Regions from separate parts of the Homo sapiens genome. Here all the other regions are linked to region 2. The links are contacts of gene promoters, found by promoter capture Hi-C in blood cells and fetal thymus (Javierre and others, 2016). All regions are on one chromosome and are shown on one strand. Each heading gives the region's core, a stretch centred on a gene start or on the middle of the fragment in contact. The rest is flanking DNA. Distances are from core to core; before and after follow the strand shown. Region 1 has its middle 14 kb from the start of PIK3C3. Region 2 holds the start of RTTN (rotatin). Region 3 overlaps PIK3C3 (phosphatidylinositol 3-kinase catalytic subunit type 3).

What was found. The method cuts DNA at HindIII sites, captures the fragments that hold promoters and counts their contacts. A CHiCAGO score of 5 or more calls a contact.
Region 1: a contact is called between a fragment that was not itself captured here and the fragment with the promoter of RTTN in region 2, in 1 of 17 cell types (total B cells). The highest score is 6.9, in total B cells.
Region 3: a contact is called between a fragment that was not itself captured here and the fragment with the promoter of RTTN in region 2, in 1 of 17 cell types (total B cells). The highest score is 11.6, in total B cells.

Annotation. Positions count from the first base shown.
Region 1 is chr18:41,939,256-41,943,324 of GRCh38, reverse strand. No RefSeq gene overlaps it. Among named protein-coding and RNA genes, the nearest start is that of PIK3C3, 14 kb to the left of the region's middle. The HindIII fragment of the contact is 589 bases long and covers 1,910-2,498 here.
Region 2 is chr18:70,203,705-70,208,012 of GRCh38, reverse strand. RTTN (rotatin) reads left to right here and starts at 2,326. Exons shown (of 49, transcript NM_173630.4): 1 at 2,326-2,385; 2 at 2,698-2,885; 3 at 3,750-3,927. The coding sequence starts at 2,355. It overlaps LOC105372180 (a long non-coding RNA gene), which reads right to left and starts at 2,224. Exons shown (of 3, transcript XR_935599.3): 1 at 1,439-2,224; 2 at 919-984. RefSeq lists enhancers at 1,927-2,166, 1,629-2,258, 2,177-2,286, 2,497-2,626. The HindIII fragment of the contact is 5,232 bases long and covers 1-3,808 here.
Region 3 is chr18:41,960,819-41,965,530 of GRCh38, reverse strand. PIK3C3 (phosphatidylinositol 3-kinase catalytic subunit type 3) reads right to left here. Exons shown (of 25, transcript NM_002647.4): 3 at 2,899-3,042. Among named protein-coding and RNA genes, the nearest start is that of PIK3C3, 7.9 kb to the right of the region's middle. The HindIII fragment of the contact is 7,419 bases long and covers 1-4,712 here.

The DNA of each region.
Region 1 (4,069 bases), core at 955-3,454, about 28 Mb after region 2:
AGGTGTTCTCCCTATTGCAGTAGCCTAAATAAAATCAGTTTTCTGGCCCCACAAAGTGGTGTGTGCCTGTAATCTCAGCTACAAGGCAAGGGAATCCTTGGAGAACAGGAGTTCAAGAGCAGTCTGGGCAATATAGTAAGACCCCATCTCAAGAATGAATGAATAAATAAATAAACAAATAAATAGGTAACAGTTCCAGGCGCACTTAAAAAAATCCAGTTGACAACAAAATGTAGCTAAAAAATGAATAAATAAAAAGTTTTTGGAAAAGATCAATTTTCTTAGTTGTTTGGGTCCCATATTCCAAGTTTCTCCAAACAGAGCTGAAGAGAAGTCTAGGATGTAGTTGACAATTTGTGGGTTCAGTGAAATTATTTCCTCTTCAACCTTTGTTTCAGTTTCAGCATAGTCTATTTGCTTTCCCTTTTCCTCTTTTCTACTCATAGTTTCATTCTGGAGTTTTTACATCTATTGATTAAACATATTATCATTTGGGCCCTCTGCAAAGGGATTGACTTCTGTCTGCACTATAACCCTCTGATAAAAATAAAAGATGTCTTAGTGGATTTAACTATTTATAAGTTAAACTAAAATAATTTAAAACTATATGAAGAAAGAAATATTTTGAAGGCAAAATTATACAGCATGCTATTTTTGTCTTTAATGGTTCTTGATGCATAGTTATTTAGTATGGTACAAATACATGTTGAATGCATTTTAGTATTTACAATCCCAGCCAACTTTAGTATTACTGTATTGGAAGTATTTTTCCATGCAATGCACAGAAGCTGTGGATTCCCCCTTTTCTTTCTTTCTCTTTTTCCTTCTTTCCTTTTTTCCTTCCTTCCTTTCTTCTTTCCTTTCCTTTCCTTTCCTTTCCTTTCCTTTCCTTTCCTTTCCTTTCCTTTCCTTTCTTTTTTTCGAGATAAGGTCTCCCTCTGTCACCCAGGCTGGGGTGCAGTTAGTGGCACAATCATGGCTCATTTAGCCTCGACCTCCCAGACTCAAGTGATCCTCCCACCTCAGGCTCCCAAGTAGCTAGGACTACAGGCTACAGGAAAGTGCCACTATGCCCAGCTAACTTTTCAATTTTTTTGTAGAGGCAGGGGTCTGCATATGTTGCTCAGGCTGGTCTCGATCTCCTTTGCTCAAGCGATCCTGCCATCTTGGCCTCCCAAAGTACTGGGGTTACAGGTGTGAGTCATTGCACCTGGACAGATTTCCTTTTTCTATAGGAGATGCCATTCTAAAATGCTGGTTTTTCCAATACTGATTTGAATAATCCTGTCATGACCTAGAATCTTTCTTTGATCTGTTGATTATTTTTTTCAGCCTCACAAATGATCTTAGATCAAAGGGAAAAGGCCCCCACCATTTTATGTATCATTTGAACCTGGGACTTGCATGTTGTATAGGAGAGATGAACAGAACTACAAAACCACTGGTACTTTTTATTTAGTATGCTGCCTTTTATTTTTTCCTATCTCACACATGTATTTGCTTTTTCAGCCCACATTGATCAGCATGGAATATAACATATGTTTTTATATATTTACCAAAATTTCCAGAACAGTGCCTGACAGATACTGACACTCAAAAGCAAATGTATTGATGCTAAGTTGTTTATCTTTTGATTAATTGCTTCATGTGGGTGATAGTATTCGCAAGTTTCTATTTTATTAATATGCTAATCTTTTAAATATTGAGACAAATAGTTAAATAAATAACCTTGGGTCATCCCATAGAAGCAACTTGGATAGAAATTTCTTCAAGTGTCAGCCAATAAGTTCTGTTTTCCTAGTGTCCCAGGAGAGTGATGATTTAGGGAAAAAAAACCAAAAAGCAAGAATCTCCATTCCTGTTTTACCTTATGTAAGAAGGTTGGGCACGGACAGGTGGGGATGAAGCTTGATTTTGTAAGTCCAGTAGGTTGTTAGGATATTAGACAGAGATTCAGAGTAAAGGTGGAGAAAGAGAAATATCAACACATGTAATGTTGATCTCTGTGATGCCCAATTTTATGCTTAAGAAGGCTGGCAGGGCCATTGATGTGATTTGAATCTCAGAGTGAATTCATAAACTTTTTTTGTCTTTCTCCTTCCTTCCCTACACCCCGTCAATCAGAGATTGCATCTGCAGAGAGGCAGTCGACATCATTATGAAGCTGGGCTGCTTCCTGATGTAAATCGGTATTTTCACAGAGAGAGAGAGAGAGAGACCTAGAAGGGGAGATAGATGCCTGGGGCAGGGTCATTTTCTGACCCCAGGTAATCATCCTTCACCAAGAGCAGTCCCAGGACCAAGCGCTAGCTAAACAAACATATCTGCCCCATCAGCTGCTAACTTGTCTCCTGCCTTTTGAAGAAAAGGCTTCCTCCTATGCCTGCCTAATGAGTACTGCCTGCCACTCTCTTGAGCTGGCTTTTACAGCATCAAGAACCCTCTGCGCAAACACTGAGCTCTTCTCTCTACTTTGCACTTCAAGAATGTAGGAAGCTTCAGGGGAAATAAGGATTCAGGATTTTTTTCTACATCCATTTTGATGAGCATTTGCTTTCCCTACAGGATGTGCTGAAATACTTTGAAAACTCACACGCTTCTTTCAGGGAATGGCACAGTCAGACAGAAGGCATGTGGTCTGCTAGGCCAAAGGTGGAATGCAAGGAGATTCTTAGCAGTATTGAGCCATGAGCACACTGATCTGCTTCCTCTCCTCTTCCTTCATCCAGCCCTGCTAGGTAAATGAGATTGACCAAGGCTACAGAGAGGGAGAGAAAAAATGCTGAAAAACTCAAATGATTGTGTTGTCCTCAACCTCATTTGCTATGCGTCTCTCTGCTTTCCCTATCCCTTTCCTCAGGCCTGCCAAGGCATTCTACCTGGAGATTCAATTACTCCCCAATATCTGAGTTAATCCAGAATGAACAGGAAATTCAATGTTGCAGCTCTAGCAATGACCCTTTTCGCACTCCTCACTCCTGCACCCACCCAAACCCACATACATACACCTTCTCCGATCCAGTGGAGAAACTACACTGATCTAGAGGTCTCTTGCATTCATGCTTCAGTATACAATTTGGCTGACTCCAGATATTATATCTAGATGGAGAGAAAAATAGTGACCTGGAGTCCATTCCTAAATAAATAAGGGCAGATCCTGCTTCTCAGGTGGGTGAGTAGGGAAGTAGAGGTATTGGACTCTGGTGGCCGGAGCTTGGAAAGAGCCATTTTGTTGTTGTTGTTGTTGTTTGTTTTTGTTTTTGTTTTCTTCTGGCTTACTTCTCCAAGAAAGAAAGAGCTAAGGGTTTGAAGCTGGGACACATTATGACTCCTAGATCCTGAGCATATTAACCCCTTCCTTTATAGAAAAAATACTAGAAAGTGTGTTTTATAACCACATTAGTAAAACATAAATATAATTCAGGTTAGATCATATATTTTCTTTCTTCTGATTTTAAAAGAAAAAAAATACTTTGCTACTCTCCTGAAAGTATCATGGGCCTTGGGCTCTGTGTCTTCCATGCCCAGTGGATAAACTGGCCCTCATTTGAAGGGGGATGAAGGAGAAATGGTTAGAAGCAGGAGTGGGAGTCACACGTATGTCTAATCTACCACATGACCCTGAAGTAGGTAGTGTATAAGAGGAAAAAAGAAACAGCTTCCATTTGGAAGGGAGAGTGTGACCGTGAGGGCATAGATATTTTTAAGGCACACACAGGTAAGGAACTATTCAGAAATGAGGCTGAGACTACCATGCTGATCTCAGAATGCAGTTACAGAAGGCTCAGTGAAAGGAATGGGAGTGAGTCAGGGAGGAAATTGAATGAGATTAGAGGCTGTATGGACAAATGGGAATGATAATTTGGGTAATGATGGATGAACTGGATTTCTGGTGGCAAAAGGCATAGGGGAGGAAAAATATCTTTTTCTCTACCCATCTTAGCTTTGTATCTGAGGTCTCTATAACAAGAAATATTAACAAGAGACAAGCATACAACTTTATTTAACATAAGTTCTACATGAAATGGGACTCTTCATAAAGACATAAAGATCCAAAGAAATGGTTCAG
Region 2 (4,308 bases), core at 1,077-3,576:
AAAATTGCTGAATCAATAGTCTAATAGGAGAATGATAGATTATTTGCTTTGAATGTAATGAATGGGATTTAATTATTTTTGTCTAATTACAGGAGCAATATATGCTCAACAATGAAAATAAAATAAAATGTTTATGTTGACCTTGGGTGCAACATAAGTAAAACCCTTTCATAGTTTGACCCCCATTTTACTTGTAACATGCTTGTTTTAAGTCAATGGATTTTTTATATTTCTTCTACAGTATTATCGCCCCTTACCCCACTGCATCTACAGTCTCTCATCACCTAAGATTGTTCATCTCAGAAACATCATTGACAAGTTATTTCTATTATTTTTCTGTATTGTCATGTGTTTTTTGACCTTGACACTTCAAATCCGTAATTAACACCTTCCTTCCTGGATAACTACAGACACTTCTGAGTTGGTGTAACTGGTTCTGCAGTGCCCACTGTGGTATGCTATCCATCAGGACATGTGGTCTTTGGGTCAAGGAATTCAGCCACTGTTACAATCTTGGCCAGGCAGGCTTAGGCATGGGCTAGTGGAATCTTGGTTTAATATCCGTATCTCTTTCCTCCTACTTTCCAATTTCCTGCTGATGCCTCCTATCGGCGGCAACCAACTGGAAGCCAGAGGGCCAGGCAGCCTGGATAGTGCAGTCTTTTTGCCTGTTCAGGTCAGTTGATGCAGAGCTGGAAGAGCTGGGAGGAACCACTAGAAGGTGGAATGGAGAATATCCAGCATGCTAGCAGCAATCTTGCCCTTCCTCTCTTCTTCCCAGAGATAATATGGCCACCTTGAATTTTGTTCTTTTCCCGAATTTGACACACTCCGTCTGGATTCTTGCCTTTGCAAATACAGGTTTCTCCTGCAGGAATTTCCTTACCCAACTTCTTTGTGTGGCAAACTCCTACTTACTCTTTAAGATCCAACTCAAATATCATCACTCTCCTATTGACACACATGAGGAGGCAGCAAGGCACTCTAAATAGAACAAAGAAACATCAGGTCAGCTCCTCAATCTGTCACTTACTAGTTAATGTGACTTTGTGTGGGGGTACTTTTGTGATTCTAAGTTTCCTCTTTGGCAAAATAGGAATGGGAATACAGTAGGCCTTTGCTGTCCACTGGTTGCACACAGAGAATTCAACACACGGGATGGAAAATATTCGGGAAAAAACCCCACAGTTGAAAATAACAATACAACAATTAAAAAATAATATGAATAAAAGTACAGTGTAACAACTATTTACATAGCATTTACAGTGTATTAGGTATTGTAAGCAATCTAGAGATGATTTAAAGCATATAGGAGGATGTGTGTAGGTTATATGCAAATACTACACCATTTTATAAAAGAGACTTAAGCATGGGTGGATTTGGGTATCTGCGGGGGTCCTGGAACCAATTACCTAGGGATACCGAGGGCCCACTTTACCTGCCTTGACATCCCTTTCCCAGGGAACGTGAAATGATCAGACCGAGAAAATGCAAATCATTTTCCAAATGTAATTTTGTTGTTGTTCTTACCGCTGCTTATAATTAAAAAAAAAATAATTTGCTCAGCTCGATCACTGTGCACGGTGCAAAAAATCAACTTTGGTACCATTCAGCAAATCATACCCCCACGTCCCGCCTTTATTTTCCTTTTTTGCAGCCCGGTTTCTCTCTTCTGCTCACTCATACCCGCCCACCCCGCTTTTGTAGCTTGCTTGTTCATATCTGAACTTGGGTATCCAAAGACACTGCTTGACTTTGCAGGTACATTTCACAGTTAAAGAGGGTTCGTCATTTAGTAGTCGGGGATGGGGAGAACTGTCACAAAGCAAAAGTCTACATTCTAAATCGTGAAGTTCTGGGAGCTGAGAATCAGATTGGCAGGGCCAAGAACGAATCCGTCGACGAGCCGGGAGGCGGGGCTCCTGCTGGGGCCTCTGCAGCCCGCGCTGGGTTCCCGAATTCCCGCGCTGTAAGCCGGAACCCCAGGCCAGCGGGCGCCGCGGCGGGCCCGGAGATCGGTGCAGGACGCACGGCCTAGCCAGAACTACAACTCCCGACGTGCGCGGCGGCCAACGCTGGTTCTATCCCTGCTTGTTGCTTTTTTTTTTCCCTCCGCTTCTTGCGACGGAGACTGCTGTCCAGGAAGTGCGCAGTAGTGATTCTAGAGAGGCTGGAAGCTCTCCTGGCGACGCTGGGGCCGCGAAGGGCTCACGTAATGACTCCTACTCCTGGTGAGCGCAGGCGTTGCGGAACTCACCGTCCCACAGGACGTGTTTCCGGGGGTACATTAATTGTGGCTGGACGCAGTGGCGCGGCAGTTTAATTCTCCGGCGGCTGCAGATTGACGGGACGAGATGGTCCTGGCAGGGCTCATCAGGAAACTCGGTAACTGTCAGCTTGCCCCTCGCCCAAGGCACCCCCCGCGCTCTGGCCACTTGCTGAGAATGGTCGTGTCACGTTTCCGCGGCCGGCCGCTCCGCGACCGCTCCCTCTTTCACCCCCGCTTTGTCAGGATAGCCCCCGGGGACCCATCTCGGACTTTGTGTAAACTTCGCGGTTCGCGTCCCGAAGGCACCAGTGGCCTGCTTCTGAAAAAAACTGGTTTATTCCGTCTTCACGCCGCTCCTGCCCACAGCATAAATAACGTAGTCTCTTTGCAGTCGGGAAATAAAATAGTTTTGTGCCGTTCGTTGACAGGTCATCAGCTGGCCGAGATCAGGGAGCGCGCTCTCAAGAGTATTCTCTGCAAGATTGAGCACAACTTAATCTGCTACGCTGATCTCATTCAGGAGAGGCAACTTTTTCTTCATTTGCTGGAATGGTTCAATTTCCCGTCCGTTCCGATGAAGGAAGAGGTTCTGAACCTGTTAAGCAGATTGGTTAAGGTAGGGTCATTTTGAAATAAAGAAAATAATCAGACGAGTGACTTGTTTCTTAGTCATTTAATTGTAGCGTTTATTGAAAGTTAAATAATTGGGGTTAAAAGTTTTTTTAATCAACCAGAGATGTTTAATTTTAATTAATCTGGGTATATGGTTCATCTTTTATTTGTGATACTGAATCCCACATGGTCTCTGCTGTGCTCAGAAGTAACACAGAACTTCTTTTGAGTTTTGGTATGTTCTGTGTTTTTGAGTTATCTTTGGAGGTTAATATTTGTATTCTGTTTTTGTTTTCTGACATTTACATCTTAAAAACTAGATATGTCAGTATGAAAGGGAGCACTTTAAAAATAATGTTACATAACCGTGATTCATAAATACCAATGTTAAGTTGCTTGCCCATATGCTTTTAGATTGGTATTCTTATGCCTACCTCAAGAGTAGTTAGTTATCGGGGTCAGATATCAAAGTGTAAGTTTAACCTTTCAAAACTAAATCACTGTACAATGGTAGAGGAATCTTAAACTACTTTGACATCCTGTTGACCGGTTGGGGCTGGGACCATAAGGTGAGTGTCAGTGGAAAAAAGTAACCCATTAAAAAAATAAGAGTAGGGATTGATAATGTGCATTTCTAGCGTTCAGTGTGTTGGCTCATCTTTCATAAATGTTATCAAGTGTTGGATGTATGTCTCTATAGGTGTATGTGCTCCTCATGGAAGTGCCTTACTTCGGGGCAGAGCCATGAAGGATTTGTTTTTCAGAAAAGGAACATCTGATATACCAAAAATAATTTTATGTTTTGATTGCTGTAAGTTATAGAGATTTTGATACAGTTATTCTCAAGATCATCCTCTTCTTATTTTAGTATCCCCCAGCAGTCCAACATTTGGTTGACGTTGGTGCAGTAGAGTTCTTATCTAAGCTTCGGTCTAATGTGGAGCCAAATCTGCAGGCTGAAATTGATGGCATTCTGGATGGACTTTTTCTTCTTCCTTCGGAAGTTCCTGCACTATCTTCTGCCTCATACCAAACCAATCAAACTGGTAACTCTTTGGAATCTGTTAAATACAAATATATTAATTCTAATGGTAAATTTTAAGGAAAGGGAGATTAGATTTTTTTAAAAAGGATTTCTCCCACCTCCCCCAAACTTATTTTTCTTGTGTTAACTTACATGATTTTGACCTTTTTCCCCTCCTCTACTGTTAGTCAAAGGATGGTACATTTGCATTAATTGCTTTTTGGGTCAGGCCTAAACGATGCCAGTGACTTTGCTTTTATGAGGCCAGTTTGACAGATTATTTTTTTGGCAATAACAATGTATTTTTATTGAGCACATGAGTGCTCATTGTTCTTAGTGCTTTATATTTGTATTTTTGACCTTGTTCGTCATATTGGAGTATAATGATATCTGTCCTAGCTCA
Region 3 (4,712 bases), core at 1,450-3,949, about 28 Mb after region 2:
TTCTCATAGGCTTCCAGGATGGTTCTTAAACACAGGTTGATTATTACTGATTTGATGTAGTACTTTTTAAAAAAACGTGCCAGAAGCCAAACTAAACAGTACCAAAAATCAATCTGAGAGTTTGTTTAGATGTACGCAGTTCATTTCACTGCATCTGTGGAAATTTCAATTGTCCCTCCCACAACTACATCCTAGTCAGAAAATCCTCTGAAACTAGATCCTAAAGTCCCCTAAAATGCATGAGTACTAACGCAGGTGTTTTTATGAGGGAACCTCCTGTTGATATTCCAGAAGGTAAACCACTTGTGATGAATCTGGGAGGAAAAACCAAGAGGAATGTCTGGTTATTTCTCAAAAATATTTAGCCACTAAGAAGAGCTGTACATTTTTCTTTTTCTTCTCTGTTGCAAACAAGCCCCTCCCTAGTAACAAAAAATAAGGGGTAAACACTCTGTAAAAGAAACAATACTGATTTAGCAATATGTCCATTCTGCTGTAACATGCTATTTTATCAAAAAGTATATTTTAAAACTGAAAGTTACAATGTTTCAGACTACATCTAAGTTATTTTTCCTGTATGAATTTTAATAACAAATATCTCTTTAATAGCCACATTAAACTAAAATACCTAGGTATTTGTAAGCAACCAAGCTATTCCAAATGGGATTACATCTAGATTTCATTCATGAGTTTAGAAGCCTTTCTGACACACTCTTTTCCTGGATAGGAAAATTTAATATTATAAAGGCATCAATTCTCTCTTTAATTAACATATATAATTCAGTAAGATTTTCTAACAAAATAACATTGAGTTTTTTAATTGAGAAAATATTAAAATGTATCTGCCAAAACAAACCTGGAAATATTTTAAAAGAAAGACTAATAAGAATTATCCTTACCTAATACTTAAACATTTTATAATACTATCCTAACTGACAGAATAGCCCAGGAAGGATACCTAGTATTTATTAAGGTCATTATAATATTTATTCAATACATAAATATATGATATAATATTTATCAGGCCCATTAAATGTATTTAGTAATGTAACAATCATAAACTACTCAATGAGGTGGATACTATTGTTCTTTCATTTAACATATGAAGACATTGAGGCATAAGATTAAATAATCTGCCCAAGGATACACAGATACTAAGCAAAGAAGCCAAGATTTGAAGCCAGATAATCTACAACTTGCTTTCCTAACCACTATAGCACTATACACTATAATGCCTCTCTTAGACTTCAACACATGATGAATTGAGTATATAAGGATGCTATTTTAAAATAGCTGGATAAGATGACTTATTTAATAAGCAGTGTTGGGACAAATATTCAAACCATTTGTTTTGGTTTTCTCTAAAAAGCTATTCTCACTATACCACTCTTTCACAAAAGTAATTTTAGATAAATCAAAGATTTTAATATAAAGGAATAAAAGCACAACAGAAGAAACCATTTTAAAGAATCTTAAATGGGAACTTCCTAAAACATTAAATTCACAGCCCAAAAACTAAAAACTGATAGATTCAAGATAATAATTTAAAATCCATGAAGAGCAAACAAATACATACTAATTCAAAAGAACAAACCAAACCAGAAAAGCAGTATTTGTAACATAACCCACAAAGGGCTAATTCCATTCATCTACAAAGACTCCTTATATATCAATAAGAAAACGACAACTCAAAAAAAAAAAAAAGCAAAGAATTTTATGATATGTGAATTATATCTCAATTTCTAAAAAGGACAAAGTACATCAAAAAGCAGTTCATGGAAACATAAACACAAATAGTCAATAAACACTCCAAAATACAATCCTCCTCATACTTAATGATGTAAAAATTAAATAACATTTTTTAACTTTAAAGTAGACAAAAATTAAGACATTTGTAATATCCAGACAGATCTATAGCATTTCACACTGAAAGGAACCAGAACTTCTTTCAGAGATTCCAGGTCTGGAGCAGAAAATTACCAAATGAGCCTGGAAAAACTTGTCTACCAGAAAGCAAAGAAGCTACCAATCACTAGTAGTGTACTGCCAAAAGGACACGGGGTCTACTTGAAGGGTCTCCTACTGACCAAAAATGAGATTTTTTGAGCATTATAAAGAGTAAAGACAGCAATGGACTAAAACACATAAAAAACAAAATGCACAAAAGCCATCGATCACCACCTTTGCAAGTTACTAGGGCACAAACTCATTAGTCTTAAAATCGGTAAAGGGAAAGAAAGTTAAAATATTTATCTGTCTTTCCTATATGAACTAAGTAAATACTTGATGAAGGACCAAGTTCTTTAGTGAAAAATTCCTATTAGTAAATGCAGAATAATAACAGAATGTCACAAATTCTCTAAAGACAGACTGAGTCCTCTGTCCCAGGAGAAAAACGATATAGAGAAAATATCCTTTGGGACTATGGGATTTTTTTTTTAACAATTAACATCTAGTATTTGCAAATGTTTCAAAAACTGAATTATCTTTTCTATCACAATCATTACCATCATTAGCTAATGAATGCTTTTTAATCCTGTTTTTCATCCTTTCTGTCAATATTATAAAAAAAGCAGATAAACCCTGTAACAAAGCAGTTATATGTCATAGTCACTTTTCCCTAAAAGCAAGGTTCTATTTCCCAATGACTTCTATTTTCTACTAGAAATCACATTAAATCACCAACAGAAGAGCAATATAAATTGTATTTCCTAATCTATCTGTATATCCTGTAGGAAATATATGTTAAAATCAGTGTAAGGAATGATCAAATCATATGTACCTAACTGGTTTACACTGGAGACTGAGCATAAACTATTAAAGCCTTCCCTCATTCCGAAAAAGAAAAGGGTCAGAAAGCTGCTACACTCCTACAGATGAGACCAACAGAATGCTTACCCGTATTTTCCAAAGAGCGAAACCGTTGTTCCTCCTACAGGCACTGCTTTTCCGGGACCATACACATCCCATATGGTGAGGGCCACTTGGGCATTCCTGGGCAGGTCAGGGTATTTTACTGGTAGTTTCAGCCATTCATTCCAGCTATGGAAATGAAGTTAACATAAATCAGAAATACATATATATATATCTTTCTTTTAAATTAACAAACCACACAAAAAGTTTTGGCCAGAGGAAAAGGTTCCAAAAATGTTGTTAGACTCTAAAAAATAATATGGCAGTCACCTCAATTTTGCTAAAGGCAACTTTCCATTTTAAATAAAAACATAATTGTTTTAATAGAGCTCATGAAAAACAGCTCTGTTAAATTTTTTAATAAAACTCAGAAAACACCAAGACACCAGATAATATAATGGCGAAAAAAACCTGGGAAAACATTTCAACCTGTTAGAACTTTTTAAACAAACCATGATTTTCTTTAACCACTCTTCAAAACCCAATTTACATTATGAAGATAAAATAATCAAAATTACTCATACTCAAAAGCACTTCTGAGAATAAATCAGGAAAAAAAACAATCAAAACAAAAACTCAAAGTAGAAAATCTACTACCTTTATCACATGAAGTTACCAGACTGCTCCAGACAGATATGTGACTTCTTATGCGAGAATTTTCTGTTCCTCAAATGATTTCATTAATACTGATAACATTAAGCTATTAGTGCTTTATGCTTTCAAAGCACATCTGTATATATTCTTTCACTGAGGAATGTTTGTTAATAATAATATAGTTAATGACACCACAGCTCTTTTTTTTTAAACCCTCTATATATTTATGTAAATTTTCTTATACTTTTAAATTTCACACTGTATTCATTTGATAATTTCAACCCTCTTCAAGAGGAGCTGGCTTTTAAATTCCAAAAGAATACTGTGCCAACAATATGCCAAACTAATACCTAGCAGACACATAGAATTCTATTTCTGTTTACTCAAAATTATTCTGTTCATTCAAAGTTATTATCTAAGGGACATATCCTAGTCTATGTTAAATACATCTGTATTGCTAAAACATTTAACAAAATTTCCAAAAACTTAAACAACAAATCATTTATATACGCCATATAAATTAGAGATGGCTATCAATTTCAAGAAAAAGGAGTTATTAAATCCTTTTCTTCTATGAAATACTTTTTTAATCACATGCTTAAGAAAGCCAGTATCTACTACAAATAGGCTCAAACAACTAAATAAAATTATCTAATTACTAGCCACATGGTAGGGCAGGCTAGAAAGAAAAACACTAAGCAGTGCCAACTTTTGCCAATGAATAAACCACAGAAGTTAATTAACACTGGCTAAAGTTGAAGACAACAATAAGCGATAACATCCAAAATAATGTTTTGGATATTATCCAAATTTCTTTTTGGATAATATTGTGGAATTTATTATTCTGTATTCTGTCCTTTAATGACTACCAGACAACACCAATGACCAACTAATCATTTGTCTCAAACCTTTTGCTATCCAATACCAGGCAACACCACTTTCAATCAAAGCAACTGCACTTAATATGTTTTATATACGAGGCTTCTGCAGAAGAGTTCTTTTGAAAAAAATGATCCTACTTTGGGAGGCCGAGGCAGGCAGATCACTTGAGGTCAGGAGTTCAAGATGAGCTTCGCCAACATGGTGAAACCGTGTCTCTACTAAAAATACAAAAATCAGCCGGGCATGGTGGTGCGCGCCTGTAGTCCCAGCTACTTGGGAGGCTGAGGCAGGAGATTGCTTGAACCCAGAGGGTGAAGACTGCA